Linked DNA regions of Homo sapiens: regions 1 and 2 are each linked to region 3. The links are contacts of gene promoters, found by promoter capture Hi-C in blood cells and fetal thymus (Javierre and others, 2016). All regions are on one chromosome and are shown on one strand. The core of a region is centred on a gene start or on the middle of the fragment in contact, and the rest is flanking DNA. Distances in the headings are between cores, read along the strand shown.

The links. The method cuts DNA at HindIII sites, captures the fragments that hold promoters and counts their contacts. A CHiCAGO score of 5 or more calls a contact.
Region 1: a contact is called between the fragment with the promoter of MRAS here and the fragment with the promoter of DBR1 in region 3, in 4 of 17 cell types (non-activated CD4 T cells, naive CD8 T cells, naive CD4 T cells and 1 more). The highest score is 6.3, in non-activated CD4 T cells.
Region 2: the fragment with the promoter of NME9 here is called in contact with the fragment with the promoter of DBR1 in region 3 in 4 of 17 cell types (erythroblasts, non-activated CD4 T cells, naive CD8 T cells and 1 more); the score reaches 7.1 in erythroblasts.

Annotation. Positions count from the first base shown.
Region 1 is chr3:138,346,296-138,350,306 of GRCh38, reverse strand. MRAS (muscle RAS oncogene homolog) reads right to left here and starts at 1,728. Exons shown (of 6, transcript NM_001085049.3): 1 at 1,540-1,728. RefSeq lists an enhancer at 1,261-2,216. The HindIII fragment of the contact is 4,446 bases long and covers 159-4,011 here.
Region 2 is chr3:138,328,238-138,332,067 of GRCh38, reverse strand. It overlaps NME9 (NME/NM23 family member 9), which reads left to right and starts at 2,217. Exons shown (of 11, transcript NM_001349018.2): 1 at 2,217-2,765. The coding sequence starts at 2,733. It overlaps LOC124909438 (a long non-coding RNA gene), which reads right to left and starts at 2,135. Exons shown (of 2, transcript XR_007096113.1): 1 at 1,898-2,135. The HindIII fragment of the contact is 16,828 bases long and covers 1-3,830 here.
Region 3 is chr3:138,173,651-138,177,609 of GRCh38, reverse strand. DBR1 (debranching RNA lariats 1) reads left to right here and starts at 2,689. Exons shown (of 8, transcript NM_016216.4): 1 at 2,689-3,011. The coding sequence starts at 2,815. RefSeq lists an enhancer at 2,774-2,983. The HindIII fragment of the contact is 14,113 bases long and covers 1-3,959 here.

The DNA of each region.
Region 1 (4,011 bases), core at 479-2,978, 170 kb before region 3:
GCCCGAAACATTTTCAGCCCCACTCAGCAGGGACATGTGATTTACAGGAAATTAGGAGGTTTACAAAATGTTAGCAGCTCAAGTTTCTTCCCCGGGAAAAGAAGCAGGAGAAGCTCTAAGAACCGTATCCGAGAAAGTGCTTTGTTCACTGCTAAGCTTCTGACACGAGTCAGTTATTAATACCCACAGCTCACTGCCTCACACTTCAACCCACCAGTGAATGTCTATAGTGAATAATTATAAAACAATATATTACAAAACTCTAACACAGGCTGCACCAGAGCCTTCCGAAGCCCAGGACAGCCACGTGGCCAAAAGCATGGACTTCAGATATGATCTTGGGCAAGCTGTTGGCTCTTTTTCACCCCAGTTCCTCCATCCTTTACAATAAACAAAATCCTTCTGGAGGTGTCTTGTCAAGAGGTGTCTTGTCAAATGATGAGCAAATCCACTTCAAGTGCCTGGTCTTTGGAAGCCCTGTTGGTTGCTGTTATTACAGTGGAGTTTCAGAGCTCTTAAAGTCATATCTCCATCTTACTTCTGCTGCCAGACAAACCTCTGGAGGCCACGATTCCGAGCCTTGTCAGCCACCCTCTCTGGTCAGGTCCAGGACAGAGTGAGTCCTAGAGGAGCAAGGCCAGGGAGGTTCCACACCATCAGGGGCCATTGGGGAGTAGGGGCAATGGCAGAGCTCTATGATCAAGGCCCCAGTGGCCTTGATGGACTCTGTCCACCTCTCCAGACTCCACTTTGCCCCAGGCCAGAACAGACCTCAGCTCTAGCCAGAGTCTAACTGGGTGTCCAGTGTATACGCTGCGGCCAGCCAGACATTAACTCCTCTAGGCGGCCTTCTCTCACCTCCCACTCTGCAGTAGGGACCCCTAGGGGCTCCCACAACCCCTGGGCTTACCGAATCTCAGCACTTACCACACTGGCTTGTCACTTTGTGCTCTTGTCTTCCCCGCAGGGCAGGACTGGCACCGTGTCTGATGCCTCAGCCAGATCAGTTCAATGCATGAGCCCAGGCCCTAGTTGTGACCACAGCTCCAGCTCCCCAAACCTCCGGGGGCAGTGAAGGGTTGTTTATGAAGCAGGCTGCGTTTTATTATTCAGATGAATTTGTCAACTCCCTGGCGGATCCCTCCCCTCGTTAACGCCATCTTAAGGCGGGGGGGTAAAGAGTCCCCCACCCACCCACCCATCCCCCGCCGCCCCGTCCTGCCGCCCATCTATCCACCGGGTTCTCGCCCAGGCAGCCAAGGAACTGTAATTACCATGAAAGGGTCTCTCTGAGCGGCGCGCAGGCCCTCCCCACTGGGGTCTTGGTCGTGGCCGATTTCACGAACGCACACCGTTACGCGGGAGCCCGCGATGGGGGCAAAACGCCACGCACAGCCGGTCCCAGGGCGCACCCCGCAAGCGGAGAGCGCGGCCGAGCCCGGAGGGCGGCCACACCTCCCGCCCCGGAACAAAGCGACGGCCGGGGCGAGAGGCGGCGCGGCCGGGCCCCCTCCCCTCCAAGGCCGCCCGACCACTCACCGCGCGCTCCAGCCCCGGCTCGGCTACGGCACTCAGGCCGCCCCCTCCTAGCCTGCGCCGGTGAGGAGGCAGCGTCGCGCCCGCCGGGCCCCGCGGCCGCCGGACTGACGGCTCCCCGCCAGCCGGCCACTCCGGTCCGTCCCCGCCCCGGCGCCTCCTTAAAGCGACCGCGCCGCCAGCGTGCGCCCCGAGCGCCTAGCGCGCCGCGCATTCCTTATATTGCCACAGCGCCTGCTAAAAATAGAGCGCCGCTGCGGGCGCGCCAGTGGGGAGCCCGGGCCGGGTGCCTCGACCCTGTCGCCCCCGCGTGCACCCCGGCCCCCAGGACGCGCGCCTACGAAGTCCAGCCCACCCGCGCCGAGTCCCCTGGGCCCGGCAGGGCGCGCTAGAGCGCCAGGGGCTGGGGTCGGCGCCGCAGCCTCTCCCGCGGCCCAGCACTTACCCGGGTCAGATCCGTGGTGCCGGGGAGCTGGCTTTAAGGTGGACGCCGAGTGGGAATTCGACTCGGCCTCTTTAAGAGCCTCTGCGCTCCAACCTTTAAATCTCCGCTCCGGCCGGGCCAACTTCTGAGCCTAGGGACGCCTCCCCAGTCCTAGGCGAACCTCCGCCGCCACCTTAGCTGCATTCCCTTCGAATCCTGAGACGTCTTTCTTCCAGATCATGCCCCAGCGTCTCTCCCCGCAGGCCTTCTGGGTGCACCGTTCCAGGGCCCAAACTTCGTTGGGATGGATGCGACGGGGACAGGCGACACTCGCGCACCATTTCATTGTTTCAGTTCCGCTAACTCCTCTCCAGCGGCGTCATTTTCCCCCCGTTAAAAAAATAAAGATATAATTCAACACCATAAAATTCCACCTTTTGAAGTGTACAATTCAAGCCGGGCGCGGTGGCTCACGCCTGTAATCCTAACACTTTGGGAGGCCGAGGCGGGTGAATCGCCTGAGGTCAGGAGTTCAAGACCAGCCTAGGCAACATGGTGAAACCCCGTCTCTACTAAAAATACAAAAGTCAACCCGGCATGGCGGCACGTGCCTGTGATCTCATCTACTCGGGAGGCTGAGGCAGGAGAATCACGTGAACCCGGGAGGCAGAGGTTGTAGTGAGCCGAGATTGCGCTACTGCACTCTAGCCTGGGCAACAGAGTGAGACGCTGTCTCAAAAAAAAAAAAGTGTACGATTCAGTGGTGTTTAGCATATTCACAAAGTTTTGCAACCATCACCATGAGCTAATTCCAGAACATTTTCACCACTTCCCACTCCCCTCCCCTGCCCCTCACAAAAAGAACTACCCGTTAGCAGTCACTCCTCATTCACCCCTTTCCTCCGCCTCTGGGAACCACTAATCTACTTTCAATCTCTATGGATTTCCCTATTCAGGACATTTTCTATAAACGGAATCATACAACATGTGGCCTTTTGTGACTATGACTAGCTTCTTTCAGTAACCAATGTTTAATGATCTATTCATGTTGTAACATGTAGCAGTACTTCATTCCTTTTCATGACTGAGTAATATTTCACTGTATGTCTATACGTTTTGTTTATCCCTGCATCACTTGATGGATATTTAGTTTTCTGCTTTGGGGCTACTGTGAATAAAGCTGCTATGAATATTCATGTACAAGTCTTTGTATGAACATATGCTTTTCTTTCTCTTGGGTATATACCTAAGAGTGGAATTCCTGGATCATATGTTAACTCCATGTTTAACTTTTGGGGGAACTGCCAAACTGTTTTCCAAAGCAGCTGCACCATTTTACATTCCCACCAACAACATATGAGGGTTCCAATATCTCCACATCTTTGCAAACACTTGTAATTGTGTGTCTTTTTTTATTCTAGTCATCCTATTGGGGGCGAAATGGCATTTCATTGTGGTTTTGATTGTCAGCATCATTTCTGAGGACATTCTTTTTCTGGGTGGACCTCAATGACTTAGAACCAGCTTTACATGTCCAGGGAACCCACTCCCTTCTCAGGTTTGCCCCAGGCCTAAGGGAGCCTCACAGTGCTGCTGGCTCTGCCTGCCATGCTGAGGCTCTTAATCCCATGCAGGCTTCCTTTGGCATCCCAGCCACCCATGCAGCCATTTGGTGGGAGCTGCTGTGCACCCCCTGTGCCTCCACTCCCACCTGCTGCTCCAAAGACCCTGTAGACCCCAAGTGTCCCCCAGGAAGGGGACAGCAGGTTGGGTGCCATCAAGAGTATCTCTCCTTGGCAGTAGGGAGTAAAAGACCTGGTTGGGGAGAAGGCTTGAGGGACAGTAGTTTACCTCGACTGTCTAGGTTTGCCCTGGAACCTGACTCCCTCAACCCCCTCTATTTACCACAGAACTTGGGAAGGCGGGCAGGGATCTGTACATCCTGGTGGCCTGTCAGCCCCTCGTGGGCTCCCCATGTAAGAGATGTCCTCTCTTGGGCCCTGACTGGCACAAGACCCTGACCATGCCCTCAGCTTGAGCTGAGCCAACAT
Region 2 (3,830 bases), core at 968-3,467, 150 kb before region 3:
AAAAAGCAGGAGTGGCCCAAGGTGATTCATCTGGGAAAAAACTGATGAGGTTCCATGTTGTCCAAACTGTAATTTTTTTTTTCTTTGAGATGGAGTCTTGTTCTGTCACCCAGGCTGGAGTGCAGTGGCACGATCTTGGCTCACTGCAACCTCCGTCTTCTGGGTTCAAGTGATTCTCCTGCCTCAGCCTCCCAAGTAGCTGGGATTATAGGCATGCACCACCAGGCCCAGTTATTTGATACTTTTTTTTAGTAGAGACAGGGTTTCACCATGTTGGCCAGGCTCCTGCCCTCAAGTGATCCACCTGCCTCGGCCTCCCAGAGTGCTGGGATTACAGGCGTGAGCTACTGCACCCTACCCAAACTGTACACTTTTGAAAGTGAGAGGGGTTGCTATTAATAATTGCATGGGACAACAGGTGAAAAGTGGGGGTGTCCCAGGCAAACTGGGACATGTGGTTTACCTAAATTTGTTTCTGAGGTTTAGCCTGGCAAAGATGTGAGTACATTTTGTAATAGAGACCACATGGTAAGAAATTTAACCCTTTCAGAAAGAATAAATGTCACTATCTTTCCATGTGCTGGCAAGAGGAATTTAGCATCTGATTTGAATTTTATTTTGGAAACTAAATTCTAAGGGAGATTCCACACCATTCAAGAGCTTCAGCAACCACCACCTTGTGGCAATGAACATGATTTGCATCTAGTCAACTCAGTTTGCAATGTGGTGTCTTAAGGACTGCCTGTGGCTCTGCGTAATATTATCATGGAACTGAATATTGCCATGGGACTGAATGCAAGAAAAGAGTAGGTGGATTCGGAGCTGAAGTGGGAGAAGGCAGGATGACAGGTAGGAAGATGTTCGGTCTCCAGTATACCCATCGCCCTGTACTTCACAGAGGGTTGCTGGGTACCTCATGGCCAAACAGGGTATCAGCACTCCCTGGATGGAAATCATTTGGTGTATGCTTCACTTAGGAAGAATTGATATCTTAACAATATTAATTCTTCCTATCCATGAACACGGAATATTTCTTCATTTATTTAAATCTGTGAGATCTCTTTCATCAGCTGTGATTGATTCCTAGTTTAATTCTATTGCAGTCAGAGAACATACTTTGTTCTATCCTTTTAAATTTGTTAAGCTATGTTTTATGGCCTAGATTGTGGTCTATCTCAGTGAATGTCCCATGTGAGCTTGAGAAAGAATCTATATTCCGCTGTTGTTGAACTAAATATTGCATAAATGTCAATTAGATCAATTTGATATTTTTCAGTTCAACTATATCCTTGCTCATTTGCTTCTGCTGGATGTATTAATTACTTTTTAAAAATGGTATGAAAGCATTCTATTATAATACTGAGTTTACCTATTTTTCCTTGCAGTTTTATCTTCTTTTGCCTCACATATTTCGGTGCTCTGTTTTTAAGTACATACATATTAAGTATTGTTATGTCTTCCCAAATAACTGATCCCTTTAACTTTATGTAATGTCCCTGTTTATACCTGATAAATTTCCTTGTTCTGAAGTCTGCTTTTCTTGAAATTAACATACCTACTTCAGCTATTTTTTTAATTAGTGTCAGCCTGGTATAGCTTTCTCTATCCTTTTGCTTTTAATGTATTTTCTTGTGGATAACACACGATTGGGCTTTGTTTGTTTTTGAAATCCATTCTGACAATCTCTTTTTTAATTGGTGTAATCAGATTATTCACATTTAAAGTGGTTATTGATACAGTTGGATTAATATCTACAATGTCTGTAACTGTTTTGTATGTGTCTCACTTGACTTTCATATCTAATTTTGAATTTGTAATTTCATATTCTTTGCCTTAAAGAGAACGCTTGCAGATCCCTCAAAACCTGGAGACACCCCCCACCTTGCACACATTATACCGGTATGTGATGGTAGAAAAGCTGCACATCAGTCTTGGCAGGCAGGGCAGGAGGGATGCAGGGATTCACAGATGCGACTGTGCAACGCACAGATGCACTGGGTCTTTGCTTGGTGGGTTCGAAGCCTCCAGACGCTGACAAACACTGCAGCCAATGAGTGGGTTCCTATGGTCCGATATGGAGGGCAAGGGGCGGGACTCCCTCCTGCCTCTCCCTGGCTGGGTTCAGAGCCTCCGCGGAGAGACTGCGTTGGGCCCAGAGTGGGCGTGGCTTACGTGTCCGCCGGCTTTCCTGGCAGGCCTGGCGGGGGGGCCAGGTTGCCATGACGACCGCGGCTAGGTCGCGGCAGACTCGGTTGGTGACTCCGGGCGCGTCGAAGATCTTGTACCTGTCGTTCGCAGTGGCTCACTTTCCCAGTAATCCATAAGAACAGCAGGGATAACAGGGTCCCATGTCGTTTTTTTGTCAGAATTCCTCGACTGGCGACCCTGTGCCCGACAGGCTGCACCGCGCCCGGCGCACTGACTCCGGCCTCTGCGCGCGCCCCCTGGCCGGCTCCGGGGTGGGGAGGGGGCTTCGCAGATCCCCAGAAAACCGCCCGGCGAGCCACGAGCCCGTGGACTGCAGGCTCCGCTTCCTCGCGGGGTGTTCACTTTGTATCAGTGTGCTGATTTGCCGCCAGTTAGAAGCACCTTAAAAAGGGGCCGGGGGCCGTAGGAGGGGGGCTTGTCTGAAGGAGGCTCTGGGCTTGCTGATCCACGCAGCGGTTTGTCGCGAGGCTGCGGGGGAACGGCCCACGGCCGCGGTAACAGGGCTTCGTCTTCTTTGCAGAGCCATGGGCAGCAGGAAGAAGGAAATTGCCCTGCAGGTAAGCCTCAAGGGGCGCTAGCTTCCAGCTCTGGGTTGGGCTCGGGGAAGAGGAGGGTGATTAGAGCGGGGTTGCAGTATAAAAGTGACATTCTGTTTGCCAGCAGTACGTGACAGTGTTCTCAAACTTGAGTGATGTACCCTTCCGTCTTAAAGGGACAAAACTTATCTTGGAACCCCAGTGATGACAAATTTTACGCAAACAAAATTAATGCAAACAAAACTGAGTAGAAGCTGTTTACATTTATAGTGCTTATACAACCATAAAACCTAAACATGCATTAAATAAAACTATAAACTAAGAAAATACGAATCAACATAACTCGATGTGACCGTTATTTTGTTCTTGTTGAAATACAACTGCAGCTTGCACAGAGAATACAGTATAGGTTCTTTTGACTTTGGGCATGAGTCTGTAACTGTGTGCTCTGTGGAGACCCAGTTTTCCCACCACTGTTCTCATCAAATTTCACTTATTAACAAATATGTTTTGAGATATATTATGTGCTGGACATATGTTATATAGAGTGTCTTACTTCATTTGCATGTGGGACAAGTGAATTCAGAAGCCAGCAGCTGCTCTTCTTCTTGGTCCTGGACAATAGATAGTGGTTGATTCTGAAGTGATGGTAAAAACATGCAGGCATAGACCCTGGAATTAGGAGAGAGTGCTTGGTCATAAGGAGATCAGCTGGATGATCTGCAACATGGGAACATTTTAAAACGAACTTAAAATGCCTCATCATCAGCTGGCCCCAGTAAGATGCATACCAAGGCTACAGCGCCTCCTAGATAATAGAGCATTAGTGGTTTTGAGACATCTGGTTTCTCTCTTATTGTCCTCAGCAGGACCAGCAGTTTGCATGTGGATTTCAAAAGCCTAGTGGTTTAAAAAAGAGGAAAGGGGAAAGCAGCATCATTCTAAGGGTACCCCATGCTGGGGGTGGGAGGGGTGTGGGGTGGGGTGGGGTGGGATTTTTAGACTGGAAGTCAGAAGACCTGATGTAGTTCTTGTGTCCTCTATAGCCAACTGTGTCTTTGACTACATCACATAACCTCTCCAGGC
Region 3 (3,959 bases), core at 1,440-3,939:
GCCTCTGTCTTCCAGGTTCAAGCAATTCTCCTGCCTCAGCCTCCCCAGTAGCTGGTACTACAGGCATGTGCCACAACGCCCTGCTAATTTTTGTATTTTTGGAGAGATACATGTTGGCCAGGCTGGTCTCGAACTCCTGGCCTCAAGTGATCTGCAAGGTACGGAGAGCATCAGGAAAAATAGCTAATGTATGCTGGGTTTAATACCTAGGTGATAGGTTGATAGGCGCAGTAAATCATCATGGCACACGTTTACCTGTGTAACAAATCTGCATAACCTGCACATGTATCCTGGAATATATATATATATATATATATACACACACACACACAAACGAGATATTTATTTATTTATTTATTCTTTTTGAGACAGGGTCTCACTCTGTAGCCCAGGCTGGAGTGCAGCAGCGCAATCTCGGCTCACTGCAACCTCCGCCTCCCGAGTTCAAACGATTCTCCCGCCTCAGCCTCCCAAGTAGCTGGGATTACAGGCATGCGCCACCACCCCCAGCTAAGTTCTTTATTTTTAGTAGAGACAGGGTTTCACCATGTTGGCCAGGCTGCTCTCGAACTCCTGGCTTCAAGAGATCCATCCACCTTGGCCTCCCAAAGTGCTGGGACAACAGGTGGGAGTCACCGCGGCCAAAAAACGAGATTTTTAAACTAAGAATCCAATGAAACAGAAACAGACAATAGAATCAGCTCTGCAGATAAGTAAGATATTGGGCTTAGAAGACAGGCAACCTAAAATAACAATGATTAATATATGAGAGAAAGAGAGGAAAAGATGAAGGAAATAAATTAAAAGATAAAGAATCTCTTTAAACTATTGGCTTCACTGGAAAAGAATCCAATATAAATCCTAAAATTGAAAAGGACTATAATGTTAAAACATTAATAAATGAGTTTGTACATTGGACATAGAACAAAATAGGATTAGTAAACTAGAAGAGAGGTTATTAGAAACTATCCAAAATAAAACACTGATAAAAATGAGAACTATGGAATAGAAATAAAAGATAGGTAAAATACCATGGAAAAATTCCAAAGGAGTAGGAAAAGACAGAAAAAAAAGCAACATTTAAGTAGATACTGACCAAGAATATTCCAAAACTGAAAAAAGATACCAAGCTATAGATTCAGAAAGCATAAATGAGTAAAGTTCAAAAAAAAAACCACCTAGATATATTTTATTAAAATAGCTTTAAGGAGTAGGGAGAGAAAGTAGAGAAAGAGAAAACAGTAAATAGCAAAGAAAAAGACACATTACTGGCTGGGCGCGGTGGCTAACGCCTGTAATCCTAGCACTTCGGGAAGCCGAGGTGGGCGTATCACTTGAGGTCAGGAGTTCGAAACCAGCTTGGCCACCATGGTGAAACCCTGTCTCTACTAAAAATGCAAAAAATTAGCTGGGCATGGTGGTGTGCACCTGTAATCCCAGCTACTTGGGAGGCTGAGGCAGGAGAATCGCTTGAACTGGGGAGGCGGAGGTTGCAGTGAGCCGAGATCGTGCCACTGCCTCCAGCCTGGGCAACAGAGTGAGAGACCGTCTCAAAAAAACAAAAAACAAACAAACAAACAAAAAACCCACATTACTTTCAGTGAAAAAAAACCTTAAGTTTATAGGTGACTTCTCAGTAGAAGATAATGCAAGCCAGAAGATAATAGAATGCTATTTTTGAAATGCTTTGTAAAAAAAAAACCACACACACACACACACACACACACACACACACACACTGCTTAACTGGTATTCGGTACTCAGTAAACACACCCTTTATGAATTAAGGTGAAACAAAGACATCTCTTTCTTTCTTTTTCTTTTTTTTTTTTTTAGACGGAGTCTCACCCTGTCACCCAGGCTGGAGTGCAATGGCACGATCTCAGATCACTGCAACCTCTGCCTCCTGGGTTCAAGCGATTCTCCTGCCCCAGCCTCCCAAGTAGCTGGGATTACAGGTGTGCGCCACCACGCCCAGCTAATTTTTTGTATCTTTAGTAGAGACAGGGTTTCACCATGTTGGCCATGCTGGTCTCAAACTCCTGACCTCGTGAGCCGCCCGCCTCTGCCTCCCAAAGTGCTGGGATTACAGGTGTGAGCCAGCACACTGGCTTCTTTTCTTTTCTTCTCTCTCTCTTTCTCTTTTGTCTCTTTTTTTTTTTTTTAGACGGAGTCTCGCTCTGTCGCCCAAGCTGGAGTGCAGGGGCGCGATCTCAGGTCACTGCAACCTCCGTCTCCTGGGTTTGAGGGATTCTCCTGCCTCAGCCTCTGAAGTAGCTGTGATTACAGACGTGCGCTACTGCGCCCAGCTAATTTTTGTATTTTTAGTAGAGACAGGGTTTCACCATTTTCCCCAGAGTGGAAAGAAATTTTTAAACAAACAAATATCTAGAAAAAAATTAATCTGTCGTCGGCCTACACTAAACAAACAGGAAAACTTAAACTGAGCTCTTCAGACAGAAGAAAAATGATTCCAAAGAGAAAAATGGAAATCCAGGAAGAAAAGAGTAAGGATGGAAAGAGTACATTTGTGGATGTATATACAAAAAAATATTGACTGCATAAAACAATAATTAAAAAAAAAGAAAAAAGGAAAAAAAGAAAATAAGTTCCCTGGGATCCCAGAATTAGGTTTGACCTTCCCGGTCCCTCTCTCGCGAGATCTGGAAACCGGAAGTGAATTATTTTGCAGGAGTCTACACCCAGGCGGTGGCTATACTTATTAAAGTTGGCGGGAGCTGAGCGATCAGTCGGTCCTGGGCTGGCTGTGGTGTAGGGCGTTGCAGGCAGCGCTCACCTCCTCAGGCCGGCAGAATGCGGGTGGCTGTGGCTGGCTGCTGCCACGGCGAGCTGGATAAGATCTATGAGACGCTGGCGCTGGCAGAGCGGCGCGGCCCGGGGCCTGTCGACCTCTTGCTGTGCTGCGGCGACTTCCAGGCGGTGCGCAACGAGGCGGATCTACGCTGCATGGCCGTGCCGCCCAAGTATCGTCACATGCAAACCTTCTACAGGTGAGGACGCGGCCGGGCCCGGACTTGGCGGTGGGGGGGTGGGACTGGGTTCCCTCTGCCACTGGCTGCCTGTTTCCCTTAGATCCTGTCTTTGTTCTCTCTGTATCTCTAATTGGTGCCTAACTGAATACAGGGGTGAGGTAGTGGGAGGCGGGAAATGTATTCAGTTCGGTACTGTATTCAGTTAGGTACCAAATTATGTCAGTTTCACTAGCACCCTATCTCATTAGGTGCTTAGGAAATGTCACTTTCCTTCTTTCCATACACATCTTATCCATTTCAAAGGGTGTCGAAGCCTGGGAGGGGATAACCTGGAGGAAGAAGCTGACAGGTTTAGATAGCTACCTTGTACTTGATAGGACTCTGGAATTAGTTCATTCAATGATCCTGAAGTTTTTACTGGGCCCCTGCTATGTGCTTGTTGTGGTTCTAGAAGATGAGGTTATGGCAATGAACTCGAAACAGTTCTTGACTTAATTGAACGGGCACTGACTTGAGGCTCAAGGTGGAAGCTCTTCATTCCTAAGGGCAAGGATGGATACTGGGCAATTCCTTTTTTTTTTTTTTTTTTTTTTCTTGAGACAGAGTTTCGCTTTGTTGCCCAGGCTGGAGTGCAGTACCGCGATATTGACCCACTGCAACCTCCGTCTCCTGGGTTCAAGCGATTCTCCCACCTCAGCCTCCCGAGTAGCTGGGATTACACCCAGCTAATTTTTGCATTTTTAGTAGAGACGGGGTTTCACCACATTGGCCAGGTTGGTCTCGAACTCCTGACCTCAGGGGATCCGCCTGTGTCGGCCATCAAAAGTGCTGGGATTACAGGAGGGAGCCACCGCGCCCAGCCCCAGGCAATTCCTTTTGAAAGAGCTTTTTAACTTTTTATGATGAACTCAGTTTCTTTTTTTTTTTCGGAACTTATTTGCTTTTCTGCTATGCCTAATTGTGGTA